Linked DNA regions of Homo sapiens: region 1 is linked to region 2. The links are contacts of gene promoters, found by promoter capture Hi-C in blood cells and fetal thymus (Javierre and others, 2016). All regions are on one chromosome and are shown on one strand. Each heading gives the region's core, a stretch centred on a gene start or on the middle of the fragment in contact. The rest is flanking DNA. Distances are from core to core; before and after follow the strand shown. Region 1 holds the start of THAP1 (THAP domain containing 1). Region 2 holds the start of LSM1 (LSM1 homolog, mRNA degradation associated).

What was found. Contacts are between HindIII fragments. The CHiCAGO score rates a contact against its expected background, and 5 or more counts as called.
Region 1: a contact is called between the fragment with the promoter of THAP1 here and the fragment with the promoter of LSM1 in region 2, in 3 of 17 cell types (non-activated CD4 T cells, fetal thymus and total CD8 T cells). The highest score is 8.9, in non-activated CD4 T cells.

What each region holds. Positions count from the first base shown.
Region 1 is chr8:42,841,325-42,844,674 of GRCh38, forward strand. It overlaps THAP1 (THAP domain containing 1), which reads right to left and starts at 2,001. Exons shown (of 3, transcript NM_018105.3): 1 at 1,700-2,001. The coding sequence starts at 1,770. It overlaps LOC124901940 (a long non-coding RNA gene), which reads left to right and starts at 1,610. Exons shown (of 2, transcript XR_007060901.1): 1 at 1,610-2,059; 2 at 2,443-3,350. RefSeq lists enhancers at 1,594-2,384, 1,720-2,079 and a silencer at 1,600-1,689. The HindIII fragment of the contact is 1,565 bases long and covers 1,196-2,760 here.
Region 2 is chr8:38,174,650-38,178,141 of GRCh38, forward strand. LSM1 (LSM1 homolog, mRNA degradation associated) reads right to left here and starts at 1,844. Exons shown (of 4, transcript NM_014462.3): 1 at 1,626-1,844. The coding sequence starts at 1,671. It overlaps BAG4 (BAG cochaperone 4), which reads left to right and starts at 2,206. Exons shown (of 5, transcript NM_004874.4): 1 at 2,206-2,490. The coding sequence starts at 2,221. RefSeq lists enhancers at 812-1,669, 1,249-1,338, 1,670-2,527, 1,749-1,898, 2,809-3,148. The HindIII fragment of the contact is 945 bases long and covers 1,549-2,493 here.

The sequences.
Region 1 (3,350 bases), core at 751-3,250, 4.7 Mb after region 2:
GGAGTCTCACTCTGTTACCCAAGCTGGAGTGCAGGGCAAGATCTCAGCTCACTGCAACCTCCATATCCCAGGTTCAAGTGATTCCCCTACCTCAGCCTCCCAAGTAGCTAAGATTACAGGCGTACGCCTGTATTTTGTATTTTTAGTAGAGACGGGATTTTGCCATGTTGGCCAGGCTGGTCTCGAACTCCTGACGTCAGGTGATCCGCCCACCTTGGCCTCCCCAAGTGCTGGGAATTACAGGCATGAGCCATCGTGCCTCGACAAAAACAGTTATTTCCGACGTGTGAATACCCTCTTTAAACTAGTTTCCAGTGCCAATGAAACATTTTCCATAATTTTAGATTCCTTCTGCCAAGCCATCAGAAATGTGGGTGGGGAGCTGGGCATGTAATCCTGTTACCATCACCTGACCTTTCCCTACATTTAGAAAGAACATGTTTACAGAAATTCCAATTAAATCAAGAGATAATATTAGGATATCCTGAACTGAATCCTCTAAGTGTTCTATCCCCTTCTCCAAGGGGTAACATTATTACTCTGGAGACCTCTCTATGTTCTACACACTCTTATTTCTATAGGGTCCATCTCACATGATATCAAACATATTTAAAAAATGCATGGACACTCCCCTAGTAAACACAGATGGCCCCACAGCAAAAAAATAAATTAACTGAAAAGATATTTAACATTTTGCTTTTGTAATTATTTACCTAATTATAAAAGATAATTAGCTAATTACCTATGGCTAATCTGTATAGTTTACCCCTGGATCTGATTTCTTACCTATCATCTGCGTATAGCTGTCAGGAATTCTTGCAAAGAAAACTTAACATAAATGTAATTAAAATTTGTAAACAAATTCAGCTGAATGAAAATGTTATGTCACATTTTACAAGCGTTTATCATAAGTAATTACAACTCTGCACTTTTTTCCTATTTTCAAGAGAATATTTTTGATCCTATCACTTAACTGTGCTACCTACTGGATAAGACAGCTCTGAAAGCTGTGGGGCAGTTTCTTTCGAAAGAGCTTTCTCTATGCACAGGTAATGCCATAATAAATAAAGATCCGTGTGAGTCATTTTATTATGATCCATGTTGTAACTGTCCATATTATCATTATTGTGTGCTGAAAAGATAACGATTTATCTCGGCAGTACCTGAAGCTTTCTCCAAAATACAGGGTCCTTAAAGCTTAGTTCCTAGAGATTGGGGGCAAAAATTCTCCCTGATTTCCCAGCCAAAAAACCCTTAATTGCTACGATGCTGGCCTCCCATCCACGGCAAGGGCGAAAAGTAGTGATTTCTTCGTTTAAAGGCCTTTGTTTCTATTTTAAATTTACCCCTAAGACCATATTAAAACACCTGGCTGCTCTGTGACCCTGGTGGTGGCAAAACCCGCGCCACCCTAGGCATCGCCCGTGGGCTCCGAACGCGTCAACCCAGGCCGTGAGCGAAGCCTGCAACCAGGGCCTGTTCCAGGAGCGCGAGAAACGGCTGCCGCGGCGACGCGCGCCGAGAACGCGCGATCGGGCGGCGGTTCCCAGCGGGACGCGGTGGGAAACGCCCGACACGGCCGGCCCCAGACCCCACCCGCCCCTCGCGCGGACACGCGCCTGGCTCCGCCCCCGGCCCCGCCGGCCGCGCGCCCCCACCCCGGCTGAGACCGGCCCCGCGAGGCGCGCAGGGTCCTCACTTGTGGAAAGAAACGGGCTTGTCCTTGTCGTAGCGGTTCTTGCAGCCGTAGGCGGAGCAGGACTGCACCATCCTTCCGGTCCTCAGGCACTTCACTTCTGCCGCCGCAGAAGGCAGGGGAAGCTGTTCTCAGTGTCGCTGCGCTCGGTTGGATTCCCTCGCTTCTTTTGTAGCTTTGGCCAACAGTTACAGTGATGGTGGCCTCCCTCGGGGGTGACTAGTGTGCCCGTTTTGTTGTTTGCATTAGCAGAAGGACCACAGCCATCGCCCGTCTCCCATCTCCAAGATGGCGGAGGCAGCTTCAACCTCACCTCTCGCGAGGGGTGCGTCCCACTGTCTCTGATTAGCCCCGAGGTCAGAGGTAACGTTTCCTGGGAAGCTAACTATTGGCTGAGGCCAGGTGTTTCCGGCGGTGGCTTCAGAGTTGCCGAAGTGGGCGGAGCCCTGAGCTTCCGGCAGGCAGGAAGGAACTGCTTGTGGGGGGAGGAGGCGCGGCGGGAGGCCGGATTCCTGGGGCATCCTCCAGCCCCGGGCTGTTCCCGTGGGTTAATTGATGCGGACCTTTTCTGGGGCAGCTTACAGTAGGGAACAACTAGGGCCTCTTGGAGAACAGGTGTAAAGCCGAGGTCGTTGGCTGATTGCGCCCATTTCTTTAAAAGGGCGGACACAGATGGTGTATGATTAATAAAATTGTGGAACCTTTTCCCAGAGTGCTAATCTTTATCCCATTACCTGTGTCTTCAGGTATCACAAGTTTCTGTGAGAGCCAACGTGACAGATTTTTAGCAATGAAAAAAGACACACTCGCCAAATCATCTCAATTGCCAACGCAGAAGCGTTTTATATATATGTATGTATATGTATGTATATATGTGTGTATGTATATATGTGTGTGTGTATGTATATATATATATATATATGTAATTTTTTAAATAAATAGAGGCGTTGTCTCCCCACGTTGCCCAGGTCAGTCTGGAACTCGAGCTCAAGGGATCCTCCCATCTCGACCTCCCCATGGGTTGGGATTACAGGAGTTGAGCCACCAGGCTGTCCCTCCCCAGAAGCTTTTCTGAAGGCTCTCCATTGCTGTGATTTCCATGTGCTGTGTTGCAAATAGCGAACTGCTGCAGCAATTTTCACACCTGAGAGAGAATATGTTAGAGGGGTTCGAACTAGAGCGACTCTGTGTTGAGTGAGGGCTAGGAAAATGAGGCTGGGACTTGCTGGGCTGCATTCCCGGGAAGTTAGGTATTCCTAGCCTCTAGATGTGTATACCATTAAGGCAACAGATTGATAATGTTTACTACACAGACCCAGACTACCAAGTGTCCAGATATCCCGATATTTTGAGAACAGAAGCATTCCTAATTTTGCTTTAAAGATAATAATATTGGGCTGGGCACAGTGCCTCACGCCTGTAATCCCAGCACTTTGGAAGGCCGAGGCGGGCGGATCACTTGAGGTCAGGAGTTCAAGACTAGCCTGGTCAACATGGTGAAAACGTCTCTACTAAAAATACAAAAATTAACCGGGTGTGGTGGCACATGCCCTCGAATTTCAGCTACTCTGGAGGCTGAGGCAGGATAATCGCTTGAATCCGGGAGGCGGGGGTTGCAGTGAGCCGTGCTTGCACCACTGCACTCCAGCCTGGG
Region 2 (3,492 bases), core at 594-3,093:
CATATAGATGTTAATATATATTTAGTCCAATTACACTACATTTCCCTTACATAGCACAATAAGTAATTTGTGTTTAAAAAAATGATCTGTCGGCCGGAGGCGGTGGCTCACGCCTGTAATCCCAGTACTCTGGGAGGCCGAGGTGGGTGGATCACCTGAGGTCAGGAGTTGGAGACCAGACTGCCCAGCATGGCGAAACCTCGTCTCTACCAAAAAATGCAAAAATTAGCTGGGCGTGCTGGCAGGCGCCTGTAATCCCAGTTACTTGGGAGGCTGAGGCACAAGAATTGTTTAAACCCGGGAGGTGGAGGTTCCAGTGAGTCGAGATCGCGCCACTGCACACTACAGCCTGGGCGACAGAGCAAGACTCTGTCTCAAAAAAAAAAAAAAAAAAAGAAAAGAAAAGAAAAAAGATCTGTCAACCATAAAATGATTTTTTTTTTTTTTTTGAGACGGAGTCTTGCTCTGTCGCTCAGGCTGGAGTGCAATGGTGCGATCTCGGCTCACTGCAACCTTCTCCTCCCGGGTTCAAGCGATTCTCCCGCCTCAGCCTCCCGAGTAGCTGGGATTACAGGCACCGCCATAGTGCCCAGCTAATTGTAGGAACGGGGTTTCACCATGTTGGCTAGGCTGGTCTTGAACTCCCGACCTCAGGCGATCTGCCCGCCTCGGCCCCCCAAAGTGCTGGGATTACAGGCGTGAGCCACCGCGCCAGGCCCGTAAAATGAAATTTTAACCATAGATTCTAAATTGCGTATTCACAGAGTAACTGAGACGATTGCAACTTATTTAAAACTATGTGTAAATCATCTTGAAACAAGTTAATGAGAAAGATCACATGATTAAAACAATAAAAAATGTTGCTTGAGGAATAATGCACAGACGGAATTTAGAAAAAAGGAAAGCCAGAACAACTGCAGACGGTTCTTTTCGCTTTTGTATAGGACTGAGCTCCTCTTCCGGACAAAAACCAGGAATAAGGGAGGTCTTCTTAGTAAAAGCAAAAGTAAATTGTCTTAAAAAAAAAAAAAAGGTTGCAAGTGATTTGGTCTTTCCAGAAAAGTCAATACCATGTCTAACAGTGGTCTCTACTACAATAACCTGAAGGTGCTAATGACCCTCACAGTAAAATAAGCTAGCAAATGGCCACACCGTAGAGCGCCTACATTTACTGCCAATTAAGTCCAACTGCCGCTGTCTTAATATTTTCGCTTTTTAATGAATCCTCTCTCTAGGTATTCCGATCCATCCACCGGTAACACGCTGATACTTCGAAATACTGCAGGCAGGAGTGGACGGGGGAGAAGCCCCCCCCCTCCCCGGGCTTCTTTCGTGTTCGGGCCTCTGCTGCCGCGATCCACGGAAGCAAGAATGAGTTCCATCGCTTGGGGCTCACCAGCTAGAGGGCTGGCGGAGGCTGCGAGGGGCAGAAGTAGCAGCAGGCTACTGGGTGGGCAAGCGGTGTGTACCGCAGCTGTGGAGGACATCGACGCGGAACGCCCGGATTGAGCTCAGAACACACCGGCCCCGCCCGGGACTCATTCTACAAGCTTCTTCGGAAGAGGCGCCCGCCCGGGAGGAAGGGTCTAACCCCGGGCTCCACCGGGAGGAGATAAACTACTCACTGTCAATGTCCTCGATGAGGCTGGCGGTGCCAGGCATATAGTTCATTTTGAACTGAAATAATGCTGCAATGCACAGCGGCGGGAGGCCAGCGCGTCCAAAACCTCTTCCCTCCTACCGCAGTCGCCGCCTCGGTGGGACCAAGCCCGGAATCCCGACCGAGACCAGCACTTCTGCCCCGGCTTTCAGCCGCCGGGGGCTGCCGGAAGCTCCTCCATATTACCCTTACCCACTTCCTGTAACACGTGTGGGCCCCCAGGAAGAGGCGGGGCAGCCGTACCGTTGGGGGACACCCTTTCCCTGTTCCTGTTAAGTAGGTAAGAGGAAACTCCATTGGATAAATGGCGAGGAAACGTATACTCCCTCTTAAGGAACACGGTGTCTTCCTTCGTCTCCGGGTTCCCGAGACCCCAGAGTCACTGACCTCCGTCCCTCAGCTTTCGGGGTTCGGCAGCAGAAGGGGCGGGCCCGGGCCTGGGATTGGCTGGCGTCGTCCGACCCCCTTCGCTGCTCTCCATTCGCAATCGCCCGCGGGCGCCTGCGCGATGGGTCGGCCGTGGGGAGCGGGGCGGGAAGCGCTTCAGGGCAGCGGATCCCATGTCGGCCCTGAGGCGCTCGGGCTACGGCCCCAGTGACGGTCCGTCCTACGGCCGCTACTACGGGCCTGGGGGTGGAGATGTGCCGGTACACCCACCTCCACCCTTATATCCTCTTCGCCCTGAACCTCCCCAGCCTCCCATTTCCTGGCGGGTGCGCGGGGGCGGCCCGGCGGAGACCACCTGGCTGGGAGAAGGCGGAGGAGGCGATGGCTACTATCCCTCGGGAGGCGCCTGGCCAGAGCCTGGTCGAGCCGGAGGAAGCCACCAGGTAAGCTTTGCACCCTCTGTCCTTGCGGGGAGGTGAGGGCCCTTGGGGCTGGGGTTCGTAAAGGATCGGGTTTCATACTTGTTTTCCTTATGTGGAGGAGGGTGTGTTGCGGGGGGTGTTGGAGAGACCGAGACTAAGATCAGAGGTTGGGGGGACATGCTTGTGTTCCCTTTGCCCCTCCTTTTCTGCTTCGACCCCAAAAAATATGTTTATTACCATTTAAAAAAGAAAGATCCTGCGCGGACTTACTAAGCTTAGCAGCAGGCTGCAGATCTCTCTCCTGGGAGCGGTGCTGGGTAGGGGTGGCACGGATCTACTGCTCCAGCTCTAGCAATTTATCCTGCGTGGCTGGCAGGCCGGCTCTCCCGGGGAAGGGAAGTGGCTGCAGCCCCCGATGCCGCTCAGGGACCCTCCCGAGGGGAAGGAACCTTTGCGAGGAGGAGGGATCTGGGCATTTAGCTGTTTGCCCCTAATGCCTTGCCTGAGATCGAATCATGAATAATCAGTGTTGTAAAGTACCTTTACGCGGATTGACTGATTTAATTTTCACGGCGACTGCAAGGTAAAATGGCATTACAGCGGCCCTTTTTTTTGTTTTCGAATAAGGAACCGGGGCTCTGCGAGGTTAACTCACTTGCCTAATACACTTGGACCTGCAACATTTTATTCTCCGTTTTCCTGCCGGACATATACTTCTGCTTTGTTAATACAGTCTTCTGGGTAGTGGGTTGTCGTTCTGCGGTGGCAGCATACCTCTCTGTTCGTTCAAGAATTATCCTCATTTGTTGAAAATGTAATAGTGAAATTCTCGTACATTGCTGGTGGGGATGTAAAATGGTGGAAAATAGTTTGGTAGTTCCTCAAAACATTAAGCATTAGAATTAGTCTATGACCCAGCAAGCCCACTCCTGGCTATATACCCAAGAAAACTGATAACGTATGTTCACATAAAGCTTGTCCGCCCATGTTCATAGCATCATTATTCATAATCGCCAAAAAGTA